2 separate regions of the Homo sapiens genome follow, and region 1 is linked to region 2. Evidence: promoter capture Hi-C in human tissues and cell types (Jung and others, 2019). All regions are on one chromosome and are shown on one strand. Each heading gives the region's core, a stretch centred on a gene start or on the middle of the fragment in contact. The rest is flanking DNA. Distances are from core to core; before and after follow the strand shown. Region 1 overlaps FAM222B (family with sequence similarity 222 member B). Region 2 holds the start of TRAF4 (TNF receptor associated factor 4).

Region 1 (3,309 bases), core at 593-3,092, 45 kb after region 2:
ATCTCGAGTGCAGTGGTGCGATCTCCGCTCACGGCAACCTCCACCTCCTGGGTTCACGCCATTCTCCTGCCTCAGCCTCCTGAGTAGTTGAGACTACAGGCGCCCGCAACCACGCCCAGCTAATTTTTTTGTATTTTTAGTAGAGACGGGGTTTCACCATGTTAGCCAGGATGGTATGATCTCCTGACCTCGTGATCCACCCTCCTCGGCCTCCCAAAGTGCTGGGATTACAGGCGTGAGCCACCATGCCCAGCCCCCACTGTATCTTCTATTCTTCTGTTATCTAGGGCTAGTTTCCCAATCTTGCCAAGGCAGATTATAAGGTAATACAGAAAGACAAGTTTGATACATTAATGCATTCTATTCCCTTTAGGCCCTTCCTTCTCCTCCCCCAGCCTGAGTATGGACCATGAGGAATCCTGATATGTAATAACCTTTGTCAAAGGCTTCTATATAGCCTTAGTGAAAATCAAAGCACTTACATTGCTTGTCACTGAGACTCACTATAACTTGAAGATTTATGGTTCACGCTCCACATGTCCAAGGAATTAGCAGGTTTCTGAAGCTAAAGGGTCTCTGAAAGCTCAAGAGGCTGCTAAGCTTAAAGGGGCCCGAGAATTGAAAGCTTAAAGGAAGAGGTGGAGCACCCCCTTCCACACCTGGCAGACCACAACTAGCTAATGAAATTTGCAATGCTGGGTCAATCTACAGGAAGGAAAAACAGATATACAGTCCCTGTTAGAATAATACTTTCATAGCTAGGGTAAACACACAGATAAAGATTCTGAAATTCACTTTAGGAAGCTTCCTCATTTCAGGAACTGTCTGCAAAACAAATAAAAAACTAATAAAGTAGTCTTTTTTTTTTTTTTTTTGAGACGGAGTTTCGCTCTTGTTGCAGGCTGGAGTGCAATGGCACGATCTTGGCTCACCGCAACCTCCACCTCCTGGGTTCAAGCAATTCTCCTGCCTCAGCCTCCCGAGTGGCTAGGATTACAGGAATGTGCCACCACACCCAGCTAATTTTGAATTTTTAGTAGAGATGGGGTTTCTCCATGTTGGTCAGGCTAGTTTTGAACTCCCAACCTCAGGTGATCCGCCCGCCTCGGCCTCCCAAAGTGCTGGGATTACAGGCGTGAGCCACCGCACCCAGCCTAAAGCAGTCCTTTAAACCTCTAAAGTGTTGAAAGTACCACAACTCACTCAATGATCAGCAGAATTATTTGGCTCCCTTCTGTGGACCTGAGAAATTCAAAAGTCATTCAGAATTGCTTTTTTGTTTGTTTTTGACACAAGGTCTCACCCTGTCATCCAGGCTGGAGTATGGTGGTGCAATCATAGCTCACTGCAACCTTGAACTTCTAGGCTTAACGGATCTTCTTGCCTCAGCTTCCTGAGTAGCTGGGATTATAGGTGCACACCATTGCATGTGGCTAATTTTTTTGTTTTTTATAGAGACAGGTTTTTGCCATGTTGCCCAGGCTGGTCTGGAACTCATGAGCTCAGGCAATCTGCCTGCCTCGGCCTCCCAAAGTGCTGGGATTACAGGCATGAGCCACCGCGTCCGGCCTCAGTATTGTTATTTATCAAAGTGTGTGACTGCTTCTAACCTGTCAAATATGCATCTTATACTACATATTAAGTCCCACCAAACAAGTCATTTAAGTCAACATTATTTTAGCATTGAGTTAATCGGGGAGGAAAAATCCAATAAATATACATGTAACTCTAAAGATGCCCAAATAATTGTAATTTGCCCTCCCTTTTAAAATTAATTTACTTTTGTTTTTTGAGTCAGAGTCTCACTCTGTCATCCAGGCTGGAGCGCAGTGATGCAATATTGGCTTACTATAACCACTGCCTCCCAGGTTCAAACAATTCTCCTGCCTCAGCCTCCCGAGTAGCTGGGATTACAGATGCCCGCCACCACACCCACCTAATTTTTGTATTTTTAGTTTAGTAGAGATGGGGTTTCACCATGTTAGCCAGGCTGGTCTTGAACTCCTGATTTCAGGTGATCTGCCTGCCTGCCTCGGCCTCCCAAAGTGCTGGGATTACAGATGTAAGCCACAGCGCCCGGCCTTGCCTTTCTTTTATCTCAAAGATACCTCAAAAAAAAAAAAAAAAAAAAAAAACTAACACCCCCCCGACAAGTAATCTTATGGATAGTGGTAGAAAACAAAAGTTCAAAATTCTTCTATTACTGGTACACATCTTCTTCATTCTGTGTCCTTTTTTTTTTTTTTGAGATGGAGTCTCGCTCTGTTACGCAGGCTGGAGTGTGCAGTGGCGGAATCTCAGCTCATTGCAACCTCTACCTCCTGGGTTCAAGCAACTCTCTGTCTCAGCCTCATGAGTAGCTGGGATTACAGGCACCCACCACCATGCACAGCTAATTTTTTGTATTCTTAGTACACACGGGGTTTCACCATCTTAGCCAGGCTGGTCTTGAACTCCTGAACGATCCACCTGCCTCGGCCCCCCAAATTCCTGGGGTTACAGGCGTGAGCCACTGTGCCTGGCCCACTGTCCTCTTTAATTTCTTCTCTCTTTGGGACCTCCCTTACCAACTCAGTGTCCTTATCAACTTTTACCCAGTTCTATTAAGTCACTTCAATTGAATTAGAAATGGAAGCTACCCAAACAGAATGAGAAGAGTACTGGATGCAGTGATCACTCCCACCCAATTGCAATGAGCCCCAACAGGGCCTACTCTTGGTTTCTAAATACTGCATTTTCCATTGAAAGGAACCAAGGCTCCTTGGAGAATTGACTGAGGCAGAGAAAGTACTAGATGAGTCTAATATATCTTATTGTGCAGGAAAGGAAGTGCTCAAAGAATAACAGTGAAATATCAAAGGACAAAGAAGGCACAAGATGCTTAGTTGGTGAGGGAAACCCCAGAGACAGAAGTTTACACAGTAGAAATTAGAGAAGACATTGAGTGGGTACACTGGGTAAAGCAGGCATGTTACCAGAATACAACAGTTGTGAATTTTTCTTTTCTACCATTGCCTGTAAGGTGTTAGTTTGGGGAGTATTTATCTGTCAACCTATTGAAATAAAAGAATGGCAGATTATTTGGGCATTTTTATGATTAAACATATATTTATATAATTTTTTTTCTTGATTTACTGGCCAAATCGGGAATAATCTGAGCATCAAAATAAATAATAAAAGATGATATTTCATTGAATAAAACAAGAAATCATTAGTTCATACTAATGTAAACAAATACATTGGAAGGCTGAAAAGGAATGCAATATTTGTATAGTTTCTAAGCCCTGTCTCCTAAAAATACTAATTACA
Region 2 (3,321 bases), core at 319-2,818:
AATTAGCTGGGCGTGGTGGCACGCGCCTGTAGTCCCAGCTGCTCAGGAGGCTGAGGCAGGAGAATGGCGTAAACCCCTCCAGCCTGGGCGACAGAACCAGACTCCGTCTCAAAAAAAAAAAAAAAACAAAAAAGGCTGAAGGCAGCTGTAGCTCCACACAGACCCTACCCTTTCCCCTAGCCCAGTTAGAAAATAAGTCTGGGCCGGCGGCGGTGGCTCACACCTGCATAGGCAGTGCTTTGGCCAGGAGGATCCCTTGATCCCTTGTGGCCAGGAGTTGGGAGACCAGCCTGGGGACCATAGCGAGACCGCTGTCTCCACCAAAAAAAAAAAAAAAGAAGAAAATAAGGCTGGGTGCGGTGGCTCACGCCTGTAATTCCAGCACTTTGGGAGGCCAAGGCGGGCGGATCACTTGAGGTCAGTAGACTGAGGCCAGCCTGGCCAACATGGTGAAACCCCGTCTCTACTAAAAATACAAAAATTAACCAGGCATGGTGACGGGCGCCTGTAATCCCAGCTACTCTGGAGGCTAAGGCAAGAGAATCCCTTGAACCCGGGAGGTGAAGTTTGCAGTGAGCCGAGATCGCACCACTGCACTCCAGCCTGGATGACAGAGCAAGTCTCCCTCTCAAAAAAAAAAAAAAAAAAAAAAAAAAAAAAGTATTTGGTGCTTACCGGGACTCTATCTCCATACTTTGGAGCAGGGCAAGCCAGGGCCTGCCTGGACTGGCCATTAGGCCTGCCTAGCTTCTGCATAGCCCGGGGCTGGGCGGTCCCCGGGAGTGCTGCCACCTCCCCTACACTTTCATCCTGAGGCAGGATTTGCTAGACGTCGGCTTGCCTCTCTTCCCCAGCAGGAGGGCAGGAGTCACTAAGTGCTGCAGAAAAGATCCGCGCTGGAGATTGCCCGTCCCCCCCATGCCTTTCCCCAGAAACAGTTGAGAGAATGGGTAGCTGGTGGGACCAGACCGGTTTCCCAGAGGACAGGAAGGCCAATAAAAATATCAGCTGCCTGCCTGGAGTGTGGTGTCTTCAAGGGTGGGGGTGGCGACCAGGCACCCCAGGACTGGGCTGGGCCCGACCTCGGTGGCAGGGCTGCGGCCAAGGGAGGAATGTGGGCGCAGCCGGAGGCTGGGGCCGAGGTTCCTCTGGCCCAGCGCCCAGTCCAGCCTCCCCGCCCCAGCTGGGCTCCCCGGAGCTGGTTGCCAGGCTTCGGCTGCCTAGCACCTGGAAGCTGGGGCCACGGTTCCTGGGCTGCTCACGGCCCCGGAGGCCGAGCTGTTGCCTCTGGAGAAGAAAACCTTTGTGGCGCGGCCCGTCCCCTTTTCCGACCCGCACTTCCCCGGGGCCCGCGGGCTCTGGGGAGAAGCGGAGCCACGATCTCTGTCCCCCAGGGGAAAGAAAAGCCCATGATCCCGTGGGTGGGCGAGACTGGCGGTCACCAGACCCAAAAACCATGCACTCGGGGGTGGGCGGGGCCGCGAGGGCGCGCATTAGGACCGCGCGGCCGCGGTCCGCCCTCTCTTCCGGAGGGCGGGCTTCACAGCCGAGCCCTGGCCGCGACCGCCAGTCGGCGCCGCCCGGAGCCGGGAGCGCCGCTCCAGCGAGGCGCGGGCTGTGGGGCCGCCGCGTGCCTGGCCCCGCTCGCCCGTGCCGGCCGCTCGCCCGCCATGCCTGGCTTCGACTACAAGTTCCTGGAGAAGCCCAAGCGACGGCTGCTGTGCCCACTGTGCGGGAAGCCCATGCGCGAGCCTGTGCAGGTTTCCACCTGCGGCCACCGTTTCTGCGATACCTGCCTGCAGGAGTTCCTCAGGTGCTGGCCGGGGAGCAGGGGACAGCGGGGGCGGGGCGGGGCGGGGGGCGCCGCCTGGGGAGGGTCTCGGGCCCGGGGCAAGGCGGGCCTTTGTCTGCGCTGCGACCCTGTGACCTCAGGGGCGCCCCGTGACGTCACGGGGAGGGATGACGTCAAGCCCCGAGGGAGGCCCCCCCCGCAGGAATCCGAGGGGTCCGGGCGGGTCCCAACTGCCCGGCCCGGGGCGGAAGACCTCGGCGCCTTCTCGTGGGGTCAGGAGGGGAAGAGGCCCTTCCCCGTCACCTGAGAGCCGGCGCGGCCTCAGCCTTGAACTTTGAATCCTGGGGGAAGAGGACAAAACCCGCTCCCGCGTGGCAGTTTGAGCCTCCGGAGCTTTCCCCCATCTAACCTCTTCTGATTCTTCGAACGTTCAGAGAACGGTAGCTATTGTTCTCCCATTTCACAGATCATGAAACGAGATTCAAAGAAAGGCTGCGACTTGCCCAGGGTCACATAGTTACTTAAAGGCTTAACTAGGATTTAAACCCGGACTGCTTATGATCACACAATGGAGGAAGGACTGAATCCTCCCCCGAAGAAGGACCCCTCTAGGCGGCTCCCCTCTCTCCCGGGGGCTGGAGTAAGGCGGGTGGTCCATAAGTCATGAAGAAGGGGGTCGCACTCGTGTTGTTACTGAACTCCCGCTGCCCTCTCAGGACGCAGGTTAGCCCTTGGCTCTTGGGCATCCATCAAGTTTCTGGGCGCCCTGTATGTCTTGAATCTCCTGCTCACGCAGGGAACCCCTCAGGCCCGGGTGTGGGAAGCAGGGTGAAGGAGCCCCGACTCTTCGGAGGTCATGCCCCCAGAGCGCAGGGGAAGGCCGAGTCGGCCACTGCCTGGCTGTTTGCTGGGACGAGGGGATCGAGGGCCTGGCAGGGATAGTACCTCTGAGACGCCTGCCTCCGGTGCTCCCTCCCGCCGTGCCTCCCTCCCTCGCTCGGTCCTCCGTAGCTCCTACTGGCGGAAATCTCAGCAGGCCCTTTGTTTTCTGTTCCCCACAGCCTGGGCCGGCTCCTGCCCTCACATATGCTCCGGCACAAGCTGCAGGACTGCCCCCTCCCCCTCGGCAGTGTACACATTTACTCTCCTACAGACACAGCCCCATTGTCTCCGCCACTGCTCTTCCCCGGCCCTCTGGGTTCCAGATGAGGCCAGCTGAGCCCCCCGACCCCCCCACAGCTGACCCACCCTGACTGCCTCGGGAAAGGAGCGGGGGAGGGGGCCGTCAGGCCGGATTCCTTCCACCACCTTCTTGGCCCCCCTCTCTGCCACTCCCCCTCCCGGAAATCCCCTCTTCCTCTCCCACTCCCACACCCCCTCCCCCCATCCTGTCTTCTTCCCTGGGCCTTGGCCTCCACTGCACAGCCTGGAGCAGCCTCTGCCCTGCCTGTCCCCCATCCCCCAGTGCCTGAGCTGTGCTGCTGAGGCTTCTGAAGGGGAGAGAGGTGGTTGGGTGGTCCCTGCTCCTC

The links. Contacts are between HindIII fragments. The study calls those that stand out against the background at their distance.
Region 1: a contact is called between a fragment that was not itself captured here and the fragment with the promoter of TRAF4 in region 2, in 2 of the 25 tissues and cell types used here (mesenchymal stem cells and ovary).

Annotation. Positions count from the first base shown.
Region 1 is chr17:28,786,969-28,790,277 of GRCh38, forward strand. All of the region lies in intron 1 of FAM222B (family with sequence similarity 222 member B), which reads right to left. Among named protein-coding and RNA genes, the nearest start is that of TRAF4, 45 kb to the left of the region's middle. The HindIII fragment of the contact is 3,691 bases long and covers 1-3,309 here.
Region 2 is chr17:28,742,443-28,745,763 of GRCh38, forward strand. TRAF4 (TNF receptor associated factor 4) reads left to right here and starts at 1,569. Exons shown (of 7, transcript NM_004295.4): 1 at 1,569-1,813. The coding sequence starts at 1,671. NEK8 (NIMA related kinase 8) reads left to right here. Exons shown (of 15, transcript NM_178170.3): 15 at 1-1,013. RefSeq lists enhancers at 645-1,645, 669-963 and silencers at 669-963, 1,418-1,827, 1,848-2,047. The HindIII fragment of the contact is 18,595 bases long and covers 1-3,321 here.